Regions from separate parts of the Homo sapiens genome. Here region 1 is linked to region 2. Evidence: promoter capture Hi-C in human tissues and cell types (Jung and others, 2019). All regions are on one chromosome and are shown on one strand. Each heading gives the region's core, a stretch centred on a gene start or on the middle of the fragment in contact. The rest is flanking DNA. Distances are from core to core; before and after follow the strand shown.

Region 1 (7,460 bases), core at 3,488-5,987, 240 kb after region 2:
ACTCTCAGGGAAGCATTTTCAACTGCTGCTTTGAGTATTGCTAAAGTTTCTCTGTCCTACAGTATACTCTAAGATAGCAATTCACAAGCTGAGATTTATGACTTGCTAAGTTCAAAGATACAAACAAAATATTTATTTTTGACATTTCTCTTGAGAAGTCACCTGAATCACTCACATCTTTCTCTTGGTATTTAAAAGGGGTAGTTTTCAGTAATCATATTGTTAAGGGATCCTTGGGGTGTTGCTTCACCAGCCAGAAACCTCTATGGCTGGTGGCACCTTTGCCTGAGTTTTGCTCTGGCCCACTGGACTCATTCTGCCCACTTGGCCTAGCAGGCTGCACTAGGCTCATGCTGCTGGTCTGGATCCCATGCATGCCAAGGCCAAGCCAGGCATGGAGCAGCAAAGGGTGTGTGAGCGAGTGTGGGGTCTGACCACTGCACATGACCAGTCATGCTGGCTGCGTTGGGGCGAGCAGCTCCAGGTGCTAGCATGGGTGTAGGCTCCCTGCCAGGCTGCAGCTAGAACAGGTGTACCATAAGCAGCTTCCACAGCTCACATTGGGGAATGTGGTGGTGCCTAAAAGCTTGGAGACACCAGGAACTGCAGAGCCCTAAAGAGGGTGTCATAGCCCTGGCTTGGGGATTTCCTAGGTCTGGGCTCCCTGAAGGGTTGCAGCTCTTCTCTCCTCTCTTCTGGTTGCCCTCAATGTGGTGAGTAAGGGGTGTGTTTCAGCCCTGTTTGTGTTACAGCTCTTTTAGCCCCACCATTCAGGGGGTCCCAAGTTCTTGTCCTGTGTCCAGGAAGAATGAGGTACACAGACAAGTGGAGGGTGAGCAAGATGAAGAGGAGCTTTATTGAGCAATAGAGCAGCTCGGAGGAGACCCAAAGTGGGCAGCCCCTCTCCATAGCCAGGGTGTCCCAGTGAGTGTTCAGCTCTTAGCAGAGAGGGTAGCTCCTCTCTGCAGGCAGGGCATCTTGACAAGTGTTCAGCTCTCAGCAGAGGGGGTAGCTTCTCTCTGCAGCTGGTGGTCCTGTCATCCCTCTAGTCTGGCTCAGTCCAGAGCTTTTATGGGCCTCAGAGAGAGGAAGTGCACACTGATTGGTCCATGAGCAACCACGGGCAGGCCCGGAAAAGGCATCACAAGTTTCCACTCTGGTCCATGGGACCAGCAGCTCATCCCCCAGGCACAGGCCCTCCCCAGCTTGAAGGTGGGGCTTCACCAGGGACCCGCCCCCTTCTGCCCAGGAGCCTGTCTGCCTCTTGCCGCCATTCATGATGCCCAGGCTGTTTGTGCAAAGGGGCACCTGCAGGCCAGCGCAGAGCTGCCCTCAGCACCCCCCCAGCCTCTCTCCTGTGATCACTGGCACCCAAAGTCCAGAGGGGCCCAAAGCGGCAGGGGGCTGGCATGTCAGCACTGCCCTGAGCATGTGCACACCCGGCCAGATTGCAACAGTGCCCAGGCTCAGCCTCAACTTTGCTCCATGACCGGATTGGGTGCTGAGAGCAGAGAGAAGACAAGCAGTGGGAGCAGGCACTTCCAAGCCTGCAGGGGATTGGGGGACCTTCCCGGAGCCCTGAGAGTGCAGAGATGCCTGGGTCCACAGCCAGGGCTTGAGCAGCTGCAGCTGCAGCTGCACCTGGGAGGGCAGGACTCCTGCCTGCTCCTGGCTCTCAAGAGCACAGGGGTGCCTGGGTTGCAGCTGCAGCTTGGGCAGCTGCAGTTGTGCCTGGGAAACTCCCACCCTGCCAGTAGACTAAATCACTGGGGGTGCGAGGAAATTTGGACCTCAGTAGCCAGGTTCAAATTGTTCACTGTTTCTGAAAAGTGGAATTCACCTGTGAGCAATATTCTCCTTAGAAACTCTCCTTTTAGAACTCTCCTTTTAGGAAAATCCATTTATTTATTTATTTATTTATAAAACAGCCAGAAATTATTCAGGTAAATTTTGTAAGTCAAGTGCTTACTCCCTTTTACTTAAGCTGCCAGTGGCTGTTTTGCTAAAGCATTGTTTCATCAATAAACTCTGGGCTTTACTTAATAACTCTGTCAGTGGTGCAGAAGTCCAGAAGTTTTATAGGACTTGGTAGGAATTATTATAGTAAAAAGCATTTTATAGCAATTTCCTCTCTTATTTAAAAGTAATATAGACCATGAATACTGGATTCTGCTAGAAGAAAAAGGGGAAATCTTAGGTTGGTTGGTTTTATGTTCACTGTATCATTTTTACTTCTCTTACAAATCTTTAGATAAACAGAATTAAGAAGAAAACCTTTTCTGTAAGCCAGAGAAATATTTTAGTATTTGTTCTGGTATATTTTATTTCCTCCTTTATTTATTTATTCATTTATTTATTTATTTATTTAGAGATGGAGTCTCGCTCTGTTGCCCAGGCTGGAGTGCAGAGGCACCATCTCAGATCACTGCAACCTCTGACTCCCAGGTTCAAGCAATTCTCCTGCCTCAGCCTCCCAATTAGCTGGGATTACAGGTGCCCACCACCACACCCAGCTTATTTTTTTTGTATTTTTAGTAGAGATGGGGTTTCACCATGTTGGCCAGGCTGGTCTCTAACTCCTGGCCTCAAGTGATTTGCCTGCCTCAGCCTCCAAAAGTGCTGGGATTACAGGCATGAGCCACCGTGCCCAGCTATTAATTATATTTTAGACAGGCTCTCACTCTGTCACCCAGGCTGGAGTGCAGTGGCATAATCATAGCTTACTGCAGCCTTGAACTCCTGGGCTCAAATGATCCTTCTGCTTCAGCCTCCTGAGTAGCTGGGATTACAAGTGTGAAACATTGTGCCAAGAACCTCATGTATTTTTCATCCAGTAATACAGCTTCTAAAAATCCATTCTAAGAAACCAGTTGTAGATAGAATCAAATATTTACATACCAAGTGCATTTATCACAGCTCTATAAGAAGAGCAGAATCCCTAGCAACTTATGTCTCTGAGGTGTCTCACTGCTCTGCTATAAATTTCAATGTTGACAACCACCTTGAATGGTAATTTGGAGAGCATTTTAGGCAGGGAGTCAAAAACACTGGCTCAAGTACTTGTTCTAACCCTTTATCTCCTGTCTGACTCTAGAAAATTACTTTTTTTGAGTCTGTTATTTAACATTTTATTTGCAACATAAAATACGATTTAAGATCATGGACTTTAGAGGTAGACTGCCAAGCCTCAGCTTCACTATGTACTAGCTAATGGAACTTGGGTAAATTACTATACCTCTGTGCCTCAATTTTCCCAACTATAAGATGGCGATAGTAATACTTCCTACCGTAAAAAGTTGTTTTGAGGATTAAACAAATTATCATCTGTAAGGCTGGCTTATTAGTGGTTGGCATTCAGCAATCACTATCTTGCTTTAAGTGCTAAATGAGCCTGCATAATGGGAATAATAAACCCTTTTTCACCAAACTGATGGAAGGATGACATGGGAGCATATATGTGAGAGTACTACAGAAACTACAACATACAGGCTGGGCGCGGTGGCTCACGCCTGTAGTCCCAGCATTTTGGGAGGCCGAGGCGGGTGGATCACGAGGTCAGGAGATCAAGACCATCCTGGCTAACATGGTGAAACCCTGTCTCTACCAAAAATACAAAAAATTAGCCGGGCATGGTGGCAGGCGCCTGTAGTCCCAGCTACTCGGGAGGCTGAGCAGAAGAATGGCGTGAACCCGGGAGGCGGAGCTGGCAGTGAGCGGAGATTGTGCCACTGCACTCCAGCCTGGGCGACAGAGCAGAGCGAGACTCCGTCTCAAAAAAAAAAAAAAAAAAGAAAAAAGAAAAAAAGAAACTACAACACACTATGCAAATGTCATGCCGTTATTAGAGAGGTAGTTGGAAGTATATGTCAATCATCTTACAATTCTATGGTAAAAATATTCTACCTCCTAGAAACATATGTATGAGTAGTAATTGATTTAGCAGACCAGAGAATTGAAATTTAAGTCTGCATTGGGGGAGAAAAGGTCAGAGTAAAGGAGGGCTGCATGGAAAGGACTAATAAGAAGCAAACTGTAGAATCACAGAAGAGCTCAGGTAGGGATACAATTGGGCCTAAAACAGAAGGATTGGTTAAAAATCTTGAAAAGGAGTAGGGAGATGACCCACTTCCCCATCTCTTCATCCCTCTCTACGTGGCTACCCGTTCCCTCCCCTGACAGAAAAGTGGAAATTTGTTCTCTCAAATGGTTGTATCAGAAAGGCTGTGATCTCAGGAACACTATTTTTAAAGGAATATTTAGAGAATAGTCTAAAGGTCTTCAACATTAAAAAATAAGATGGTAGAAATGAAAAATCAAAAGGAAGCTTGAATATACGGTCAAGTGTATTTCCCAGAAAGAACAAAAAGATAAACAGATGCCAGATGCAGTGACTCATGCCTGTCATCCCAGCACTTTGGGAGGCCAAGGGGGCAGATCACTTGCGGCCAGGAGTTCAAGACCAGCCTGGGCAACATAGCAAAATAAGCCAGGCATGGTGGTGCACACCTAGAGTCCCAGCTACTCAGGAGGCTGAGGCAGGAGGATTCCTTGAGCCCAGAGGTTTGAGGCTGCAGTGAACTATGATTGCACCATTACACTTCAGCCTGGGCAACAGAGTGAGACCCTGTCTTAAAAACAAACAAACAAAAAAAACCCAAAACACACAACACACACACACACACACGAACAAGACAAGAAAACAAAACACGCACACACACAAACAAGACAAACAGATGCAATATGTAAGGAAGAGCATTAGAGACGTACAAACCAATTTCCCAGAATTTAAGGACCTGAGTTTTCTGATGAAAACATTTCAGTTACAGTCCGGTCAAAAAACTAAACCAAAGAACAACATCATGAAATTTCAAAAGACAAAAGATTTTAAAAGACATATCTATGAAAACTCCTTGAAAGGAAAAATTAGTCTGGGCACAGTGGCTCACGCCTGTAATCCCAACACTTTGGGAGGCTGAGGCAGGCAGATTGCTTGAGCCCAGGGGTTTGAGACCAGCCTGGGCAACACAGGGAGACCCCATCTCTACAAATAATACAAAATTAACTAGGAATGGTGGCACATGCCTGTAGTCTCAGCTACTCGGGAGGCTGAGGTGGAAGGATTGCTTGAGCCCAGGAGGTCAAGGCTGCAGTGAGCTGAGATCTTGACACTGCACTCTAGCCTGGGGGACAGAGTGAGACCCTGTCAAAAAAAAAAAAAGAAGGAAAGTGAGAAAGAAGAAAAGAAAGAAAGACAGAGAGAAAGAAAGAAAAGGAAAGAAAGAAAGAAAGAAAAGAAAGAAAGAAAGGGAAAGAAAGAAGAGAGAGAGGGAGGGAAAAGAAAAGGAAAGAAGGAAAGAAAGAGAAAAGCAAAGCAAGGTCACAAAGTATCAGGAATCAAAATGGGATCAAAATTCCTAGTAGCAACCACTGGAAACTAGATGATAATTGATTAAAACTTCCAAATTCTAAAAGAAGATGATTTCTAAGTAAAATTCTCTGTCTGCTTAAACTCTACATAAAGTAAAAAGCTAAAGATTTTTTCAGACAAGCAAGGACTCAAATAATTTACCTTCCATATCTGCTTCTCAGAAAGCTCCTGGGAGTTATTGGGCTCCACTAAAATAAGAGAGTAAACTGAGAAAGAGGAAAATGGATATCCAGCACCAGAGGAGGCCAGGGGACATCCCATGATGGTGGCAAAGGTCAGAATCTGGGTAGCAGGTCGGACAGCAACCAGGCCAGGCTGGAGCAGGAGGCAGGAGCAACAACGCCAAGAAAAAATGGGACTGATAGATGGTCAGATGTATTTGGCCATGTCAGAGGGGTTTTATAGACAAAAGTTGATGCAGGAAGTTTAAGGTAGTATATATGTGGATCAGATATGTACTTATGGTCATAATCATGTAATTATTTAATACTAATTTAATTCAATACTGATTGTATAACTATATTTGAGGCATGCAGATTGGAAAAGCACGCATGTATGTAAGTGGAGAGTGTGGGGAGAGAAACAGACTTAAATCCTCATCTTTCTTTTTTTTTGAGATGAAGTTTTGTTCTTGTTGCCCAGGCTGGAGCTCAGTGGCACGATCTCGGCTCACTGCAACCTCTGCCTCCCGGGTTCAAGCAATTGTCCTGCCTCAGCCTCCTTAGTAGCTGGGATTACAGGCACATGCCACCATGCCCGGCTAATTTTTGTATATTTAGTAGAGATGGGGTTTCACCATGTTGACCAGGCTGGTCTTGAACTTCTGACCTCAGGTGATCCACCCACCTCGGCCTCCCAGAGTGCTGGGATTACAGGTATGAGCCACCATGCCCCACTTAAATCCTCATCTTTCATCATAGGAGATTGTTCAGAATCAATTGAGAGATGGTAATAAGAGTCAGATGGATAAAGATCAAAATATCAGCTTCAAGGTTTGGGTGTGGGAAGGTTTTGGGGGAAGTGATTCTAGGAAGTGGAGTGAGGGTATGGGAAAGAGAGACTGGAAAAGGAGAAAAGCCATTAAGAATGTGTCAGTGAGCTCAGTCCCACTGGAGACCTTCTGAGAAACAGGGTGGAACACGCCTTTGCATTGTCCCACCAGAGGACAGGGAGGCTGGTCGACTTGTTGAAGATGGCGTACGCAAACGCCTCTGCATTTCTCATTCTGCTTATACAACTAAGAGCTCCTGTCGGGCCAAAGAAAGCCCTGCTGTGGTGAAGTAAAGAGATGCTAGAGCTTAAGGTGGGAGGCTGTCAGCAGGGTGGAAGCTGTCACACCACAGCAGGTGAGCTTACAGTTAGAGGTAGGTGGGGGCCTGGGAGGGGAGCATTAATAGCTTCTGTCAAACAAATGCTGGGTTGGAGCACAGAGTGTGATCTTCCTAATATTTCAACTATGAGTTAAGCAGACTTAGCCCCTTCATCACTAACCTATTGCACAGAACAGACACTGCCTCAATATGCTCACCAAATGGGAGAGCCAAATTGAAGGCACCTTGCCTCAGGCAGGTTCATCCAAGAGAAAGAAGAGGCTGAGGCAGGCCTGCTCACTAGCCAAGTAAGTCCCTTCTTCCTGGAGGAGGGAGTGAGAAATGGAGAGAGAGGCCCAAAGAGTTATTTTTGCTAACATTGCCCCAAGTGGAAACATAAGACCAGGGAAATGAAGGGCTCCCATAGAAACCAGCATGTCAAAGCAGATACTGAAATTTTAAAAACAACAATACAAAACAGAAAACAGCAGTATTCACGTGTTATTTCAGATTACCAAGGTATATACCACCAAAATAGCTAAGATATTTCCAAAGTGGTTGCTATGGTCTGAATATTTGTGTCCCTCCAAAATTCATATGTTGAAATCTAATCTCCAATGTGTTGATATTAAGAGGTGGGATCTTTGGGAGGTGGTTAGGTCACGAAGGCAGAGCCCTAGTGAATGTAATTAGTGCCCTTATAAAAGTGGTGTGAGGGAGCT
Region 2 (7,452 bases), core at 4,096-6,595:
CAGAACAGTAGCTAGAGACAGAAGTTAACATTTGTGAGAAATTTCAGAAGTGTCATCCTTCTAAAATATTTCATTCTGTGCATGTATACACAATCATATGTTTACTCAATGTTGTCCAATTACTAAGAGGTCAAGTAGGGTAAGGACTGAAAAATAGCAGTTGGGGGTTTGGCAATTAGGAACTCTCCAATGACCACAGTGAGAGTCTCAGTATCTCTAACGAGGTTGCAGTCAAAGTGTCAGCCAGGGCTGGAGTCATTTCAAAGCTTGACAGTACTGTACTGTAATATCTCCTTCCAAGCTCACTCATATTTTTGTTGGCAGAAGGCTTTAGCTCCTCTGGGACTGTTGGCCACAGGCCACTGTTCTTAACTGCTTGAGTGTCCTCCTGACATGGCAGCTGGCTTTCCCCATAGCAGTGATGAAACACACACACACACACACACACATGTTGGCAGGATGTTGGAGATGGGGGAGGATGGATAAAAGAAAAGGGTGGGGGAAGAATGAGGAAAAAGTTGTCACAAAGCGTTTTTTGACTTAGTCTCAAAATCATGCACTTCATTCTATTTTCTAGAAGCAAGGCACTAAATCTAGCCCGCACCCAAGGGTAAGGGCATGAATTAAATTCTACCTGTTGAAGGGGGGAGTAACAAAGAATCCATGGACATGATTTTAAGCCATCACAATCTGTTGGGAGTCCTAACTGCAAGTAACAGAAAATCCATCTCAAAATGGATTAAACAGCAATGGGGACTCATTGGCTCCCATAATGAAAAAGCCCTGCAGGTAGGTAAACTTGGTGAATACTTGTTCAGAGCTCTGTTTTCTCTGTCCTCTTGTCTGTGTCAAGTCATCCGTGGCCAGGTTCCTAGCAAAAATGACTGCAACCACTCTAAGGCCTCCTCCATGCACATAGCACATTCCAGAATAGGCTAGCTTGGCTCTGACTCCGCACCCCAGCAGAGTTCTGAGATTCACTCTAATTGGATGGGCTTAGGTCACGTGCTTACCATCCCCAAGCCGGGGCCTCAAATGCCTTGACTGGATCCAGTGCTCCACCCTGAAACAGGACCATGAACTCACATGCCTGAAACCACACAGAGAGGAATGGATGCTACAGAGGCAATCACAAATACCTACTACACGACTCAGGGATATTTATGTCAGCTTTTAAAAATACGGGGTGAGCAGAATTTTTGTCATTTGAAAGGAAAGAAAGCAATAGAGCCTGAAATTGAACAGCAAGGGAGTACAATCACGTGCCACATGAAGATTTTCAATCAACAACAGATCACAAATATGAGGGTGGTCCTGTAACACTACAATACTGTGTTTTTGCTGTACCTTTTCTATATTTAGATATGTTTAGATACACAAATACTATTGTGTTGCCATTGCCTGTGGTGTTCTGTACAGTCACATGCTGTACAGGTTTGTAGCCCATGAGCAATAGGCTATACCTTAGGCCATATGGTGTAGGTTTGTGTAAGTATACTCTACAATGTTGGCATAATGGTAAAATTGTCTCATGATGCATTCCTTAGAACCTGTTCCCATCACTAAGTGGCACATGACTGTATAACTAAAAAATGCCAAAGAAATGGATCAAAAGCCTAGGCAGAGTGGACACTGTTGGTAGGGAGTGGGAGAACCATTTGCTCCTCCAAGATCAGGGACAGCAAGTACAAACATAGGAGAAAACATGGAAGCTTCGAGGCAAAGTGGAGGAAGGTTGAGGAAATGTTGGTGACTGGCTGTGAATGTGAATGAAGGAGAAGAAGGTGATGTCACCAGCTGAAAAAGAGGGAGAAAAGTGAGATAAAGGAATTAAGGGGTTAAGATAAGATGGATAGAATATGCTGTCTGGGAAGTTAATGGTGTCTTTCTTACTAGTAGAACTAGAAAAACTCTGCTATAATATGAAAGCAGAAGCAGAGCTCAAAAAGATAGAAAGCTCTGGTTGAAAAGAAGAAATAAATAACATCATAATAGAAGATAATAGCACTGAATGAAAATAATGCCTACTGGAGAAAGAGAGTTAGGAAATGAAGCAAGTATAAGAAAGTAGGAGTTTATAGCAGGTTAAAAAAAGCAACTATGACAAATATCAAGAATAAGATACTCTAATCTACCTTCCAACATTTAAGCATATATCACTTACATTATTCTTTTCTCTGTCAGATAATAAATCACAGAGTATTAGGGTTAAGTATGAGTAATTTTTAATTCCCACAACTGCTGCTAAATCTTAGCTAAGAAATAAGGTAGAAAAACTGCTTCTTTTTGTGTTATTAAATGTGTAGGTTAGCAAAGTGCAAATTGTTTCCCTTTTTTTCATACTAAAATCATTATAATAAGACATTCCTCTTCACTATAGCTTTCTTGCCTTCTGGGAAGAAAGCCTTGCCCTAAAATAAAGAGGCTTTGTGTTTAAATTCACATTCATCTGATTCAGAGTTTTGTTAAGAAAAAGGGGCATGAAATAAAAATAATAAAAATATTTTTAAAATCTACGTTTGAAGCACAAGGTCATGACAAAAGGCAACAACCTTGGTTCAACTTGCCTTAGGACAGTGACCTTGAGAGAGGGCTTTGATTTGAAATTGGTTGATGAATTCCAGAGAATAGAGTTGTTACAAGTATAATACACATTTTGAGTGGGAAAAAGAAATAGCCTGCTGGACACATTTAACCTTTGATTCTGCCTATTACAAGGTTGAAGGGGTCAAACAGACTAGGACCATGTGGACTTAAGGGTTTATCCTTCTCCTTGAGGACACATTTTTCCCACTATCCTTCTGCAGGCGCGCAGATGCTTCCTACTGAAGACTCTTAATTGTTTTGGAAAACACTCCATACCTTCTTAATAGCAAGCCCTCAAGAAGGCAACATGAGTACTTAGCAAAGCACAATTTTATTTCTTTCTTGAGAGGCAAAAAGGACATCAAGATATCTTTGCTTAACATAACAACCATCAATTATTCAGTATTTACCATGTGCCAGGTGCTATGTTTGGCATTTTACATACATCACCCAATTTAATCCTCATAACAACACTACAAGATGTGTAGAATTATCTTTTTACAGATAAAGAAACAGATGCATAGAGGTCAAGTACTTAGCCCAAGCTTACAAAACTGATAGGTGGCAGAGCTGTATGTTGAAATCATGTGTGTTTGATTCCAAAGCCCATACTCTTTCTTTTGCACCACTCTGTCTAAAAACTCTTAAATAATTTCTTCATGTTCATAACTAAAAGAGTCAACAGTTTAAATAGATGTTTAAAGAAAATAAATATTTTTTAAATGTTGATAAATACAAATACAGATTTGTTCAAAATCACACGTTGTATATCATCTGCAGACTCAGTGTGAAGTACACGGAGACAAACACATACAGGGACAGACAGCAGAAACACTTTTAGGTCAGAAACAAGCCCAATTTCTTTTTTGTTTTGTTTTGTTTTTTTGAGACGGAGTCTCCCTCTGTCACTCAGGCTGGAGTGCATTGACGTGATCTCCACTCACTGCAACCTCCACCTCTCAGGTTCAAGTGATTCTCCTGCCTCAGCCTCCAAGTAGCTGGGATTACAGACATGTGCCACCACGCCCGGCCAACAAGCCCAATTTCAAATGATAAGACATGGCTATGGAATTTAGGGACAACATGAGCTTGACGGAAAGCAAACAGCTCAGGTTTGGGAGGCCCCTTCCACAAAGAGGCATTGAGAAGAACTCAGGGTAGGAGAGAAAGGGCAGTGGTTTGCTGCAGTGAGACTCACTGATACAGTTTCATTCAGTAGAAGCACTAGGCAAACTTATACAAGAAAAAATAAACATTGTAAGCAGCTGAGCTAAAGCGAATGTAGAATCTGAGGGACTGAATTTTCCTGTTGGCCCGTGAGTCAAGTCACTTACACTAGCTGATATCACTGAAATAAGGATTGCCCATATTTAGAAAAGCTCACAGCAGGCAAGAATGCTTTCCAGACTCCTGCCACAGTATCAGGAGATGTCAATCACCACTATGTGTTTTTGGACAGTACTTGGTGGACAGAGAACAAGGCAGCTATAATGAGTTTATCCTGGATTGGCCCCAGCATATAAAATAAAACAATAATAATATTATAAGTCGGTTCTGTACGTTGTCATGCGGATATGTGCTCCCTGCCCTCTCCCCAAGAGGGCATTTGGCAATGTCCAGAGACTTTTTGATTGTCACAACGTCGGGGGCAGGTTGCAACTGGCATCTAGTGGGTGGAGGCCTCCTACAATGCACAGGACAGCCCCCTACAATAAAGAATTATCCAGCCCAAGATGTCAATGGTGTGGAGGATGAGAAACTCTGGACCAGAGGAGGCAATAGCATTTATGGCATGAGGGGGTTTTGGTCACTGACTTTTTTGAACTCCCCACTCCGCAAGTATCAGTTCTCCGGGATCATTGCTTCTGGCAGGAGAGGTCATGAGGAGGCCTAGAATATGAACCAGATAGAGATTGCATTGTTTATTTTCCTTTTCATCTAAAACAATAAATCATCCTGTAGCTTAGGCATTAGGTCCCTTCGGATGTCACGGTATCCTTGTGCTTTTCTGACATCAACACATATAAATACAGGGCCTGTGGCGCCCGGGGTTTCTGCCTGGGTTTAGGTTTCTTCCCCCTCAGCATCGCGTGCTGTGCCCTGGTGGAGGGGAAGAGCGAAACACTTTGGGAATGGGGCGTTTTCGTAACGTCATTTATTTAGTCTAGATGAATTTTGCTCTTTAAGAATAAGAAGTTGTGGATTCCCAGAAGCTGGAAATCGGACGAGAGAATATGCGTTAACTAGGGAAGTTAATCACGTTGAGTTTACTGACAAGGACAAGGCAAGGGGGAGGTGGCGGAAAGCCCCGTTTGGCTGACTTTCTACTGCTGGAGCCTCCCGGCCCATGACTGTCTCCGCGAAGAGGGGGATCGGCGCTCGCGGTGGACAGGTCCGACGCAGGGCGGCGGGGGCCACTTTCCAGCGGGACCGTCCCGCCGCCGGGCCTCCCTGGAGGGGAAGGAAGTCCCTCTCCAAGTCCCAGTGGCTTTTGGAACTGCCGGGTCCCTTTGGGAGGGAGCGGTCCCGGGACGTGGGAAGATGCCGGGCGGGCGGGAAGCTGCAGGAAGAGGCGGGCCTCCTGCCTTTTGTCTCCTGGTGGCTAGCCCGGAGCGGGCAGAGGGCAGCCCGCCCGCTACACGCCCCAGCCCGGCAAGCGGCTCCGGGAATCCGGCGGGCGGGGCTGGGAGGAGGGCGGGGCGGACACAGGCCGCGCCCACCGAGCGCTCTTTAAAAGGCACCGGCGCGCGCTTCGCCTGGGATCTCGGACTCCCTGGACCCTCCCTCCAGCCCAGCCTCGCTAGCTCCGCCTGCGGTACGTGCTCCCGCCTCCGACTCAAGTGAGTAGGGGCGGTGGGGCGGTTCCGCGGCGCCGCCAACCCCGGGGCGGGAGTTGCAGGGGGTTTCCACCGCCTCCCGGGGTCGTGCTGTCGCCCGGCCGGCGCGCCCCGGTCTCCTCCGACATCCCCATCCCGGTCCGCATTTGTGCCCCTGCCAGCCTTCTCATCCCTGCGCCCCAGATTTTCTCTCTCTTATCCCCCAAACACACCTGCCCTTGTCCCCGAGGCCGTCCAGGCCATGCCCTGGGATCCCAGGCCCGCGGGGCAGGTAAATAATCTTATATGACCTTTAATTTCTCCATACTGGTTTCTCTGGGAGAGAGGCGGGTTGTGAGTTTCGCGTTTCTGCTAATCCGCCTCTTAGCAGCCGTCGGTCCCCTCGTCCAGCGGCAGGCTCTCTCTGGGGTGGGGGTCGGAGTCTCAGGGCCCCCTCTGCCCGGAGTGTGGTGAGCACCGAGGGCGACCTTACTGGGTTCTGTCCCCTAGGGGTGGAATGGGGCTTCTACATCCCCCCGAGCCCAGGGTACTGCTCCTGCCGCCGTACCGGGCTCCTGGCATCCCCATTGTTTGGTGGTGTCTGCCCACCCAGCACCGAACCCCTCTATGTTGAAGGAACAGCAGGGAATGTCAATCACTTACTCCTAGCTTTTTCCAGAACTTTCTACGATTCAGGTACAAAGAAGAATGCAAGAATGCTTGGTTGTGAAATTATGCGACAGGTCCTGCGAATCACATTCTGGGTTCTCCAGAGCCAGATTCAGGAGCTCCACGTAGGCACCCCCTGGGGGCGGGGGCGGGCTTTCTAAACCGGCGGATCCCTTTCCCCCTTCTAAGCCAGGACATTTGTTAAACGATTTTTACTTAAATGGCTACCCAAAATGTTTAACCTGTTTTATTTGCAGTCTGCAAACCAAGCACATTTTCCCTTTATAAATGCTTTTCGGTACAGAATTTTTTTTGGGGGGTGGGGGGGTGGGGCGGGGGCAGTTAGTAATTTTTTAACCCGGGCAGCGAAAATCGTCGTATTTAGTTCTTGACTTTTCCAATTAACCTGTTTTAAAACTCTCCTCATAAAATGCCAAGAATTCAAATAGGACAGCCACAAAGTTGGCTGTACTTTGACTCACGTTTTTCAAGAAAGAATTGGGTGATAGATTTTGAAAGGGAGAATCTAACATAGTTTCAGAACTGCATGCCAAGCTACAAAGAATGTTGTGAAGTACTAAGTGGTCTCCCCCAGTACTCCTGGGGTCATCGCTCTCGTCCATTGTCACTGATACTTTGTCAGTATTTCTCTGGGTCCTTTCTCCTCTGCATTGTAGTTTTCTTTGCTCTTTTGGTTCTGTGTTACCTTTGAGACCAGACCTGCATCACATGAGTCTTTGAAACTCACAGTGCTTGCTTGGGTACCTTGGACAATTGACTGAAAGAAGGAGCGAATAAGGTTGTGATTATAGGGAACAAAAATATAATTTGACTCACACAATAGGTATTTGTTTGCAGATTTGATCTAAAGTTCGTATCATAAATTTTTAATGCATTTCTCCGAATGTATTTAACAAATATTGATTGATACTGGTATAGGCTAAGTACTGTGCTGAAAGCAGTACTTGCTGGAGGCCTGTCCTGATGAAATTGCAAAATCACTTGGATTTGGGGGAGATTGAATTTTATCCTAAAACAGCAAGAATGTTGGTGTAGAGTAGAGGACAGCAATAAATGAGGAGTTTTAGAAGCCTGAGTCCAGAGGCAACTCTGACACTAAATTGCTATAGTGATCTGGGTCTCTAGGTTTTCTTCTTTGTCAAAAGTGAGGTGAATCAAATGAACCCCAAAAGGGAGCCCCCTATGGGAGAGGAGGCATGGCTGAAAGGGGGAGGAACGAAGCCAGGCAGGACCAAATTCACACCTCAACTCCAGTACCCATTGGTTTGATGCCCTTGGGCAAATTAACTTTACTCTTTGGCCTCAATACTTCATCATGTAAAATGGGTGTAGTGGCACATGCCTTGCAGGGTTGTCATAA

The links. Contacts are between HindIII fragments. The study calls those that stand out against the background at their distance.
Region 1: a fragment that was not itself captured here is called in contact with the fragment with the promoter of CSRP2 in region 2 in 1 of the 25 tissues and cell types used here (heart left ventricle).

Annotation. Positions count from the first base shown.
Region 1 is chr12:76,639,101-76,646,560 of GRCh38, reverse strand. All of the region lies in intron 1 of LOC105369851 (a long non-coding RNA gene), which reads left to right. Among named protein-coding and RNA genes, the nearest start is that of OSBPL8, 83 kb to the right of the region's middle. The HindIII fragment of the contact is 4,564 bases long and covers 2,456-7,019 here.
Region 2 is chr12:76,876,912-76,884,363 of GRCh38, reverse strand. It overlaps CSRP2 (cysteine and glycine rich protein 2), which reads left to right and starts at 5,345. Exons shown (of 6, transcript NM_001321.3): 1 at 5,345-5,426. It overlaps LOC124902971 (a long non-coding RNA gene), which reads right to left and starts at 6,005. Exons shown (of 2, transcript XR_007063380.1): 1 at 5,714-6,005; 2 at 2,899-4,476. RefSeq lists silencers at 5,076-5,125, 5,156-5,585. The HindIII fragment of the contact is 6,431 bases long and covers 2,423-7,452 here.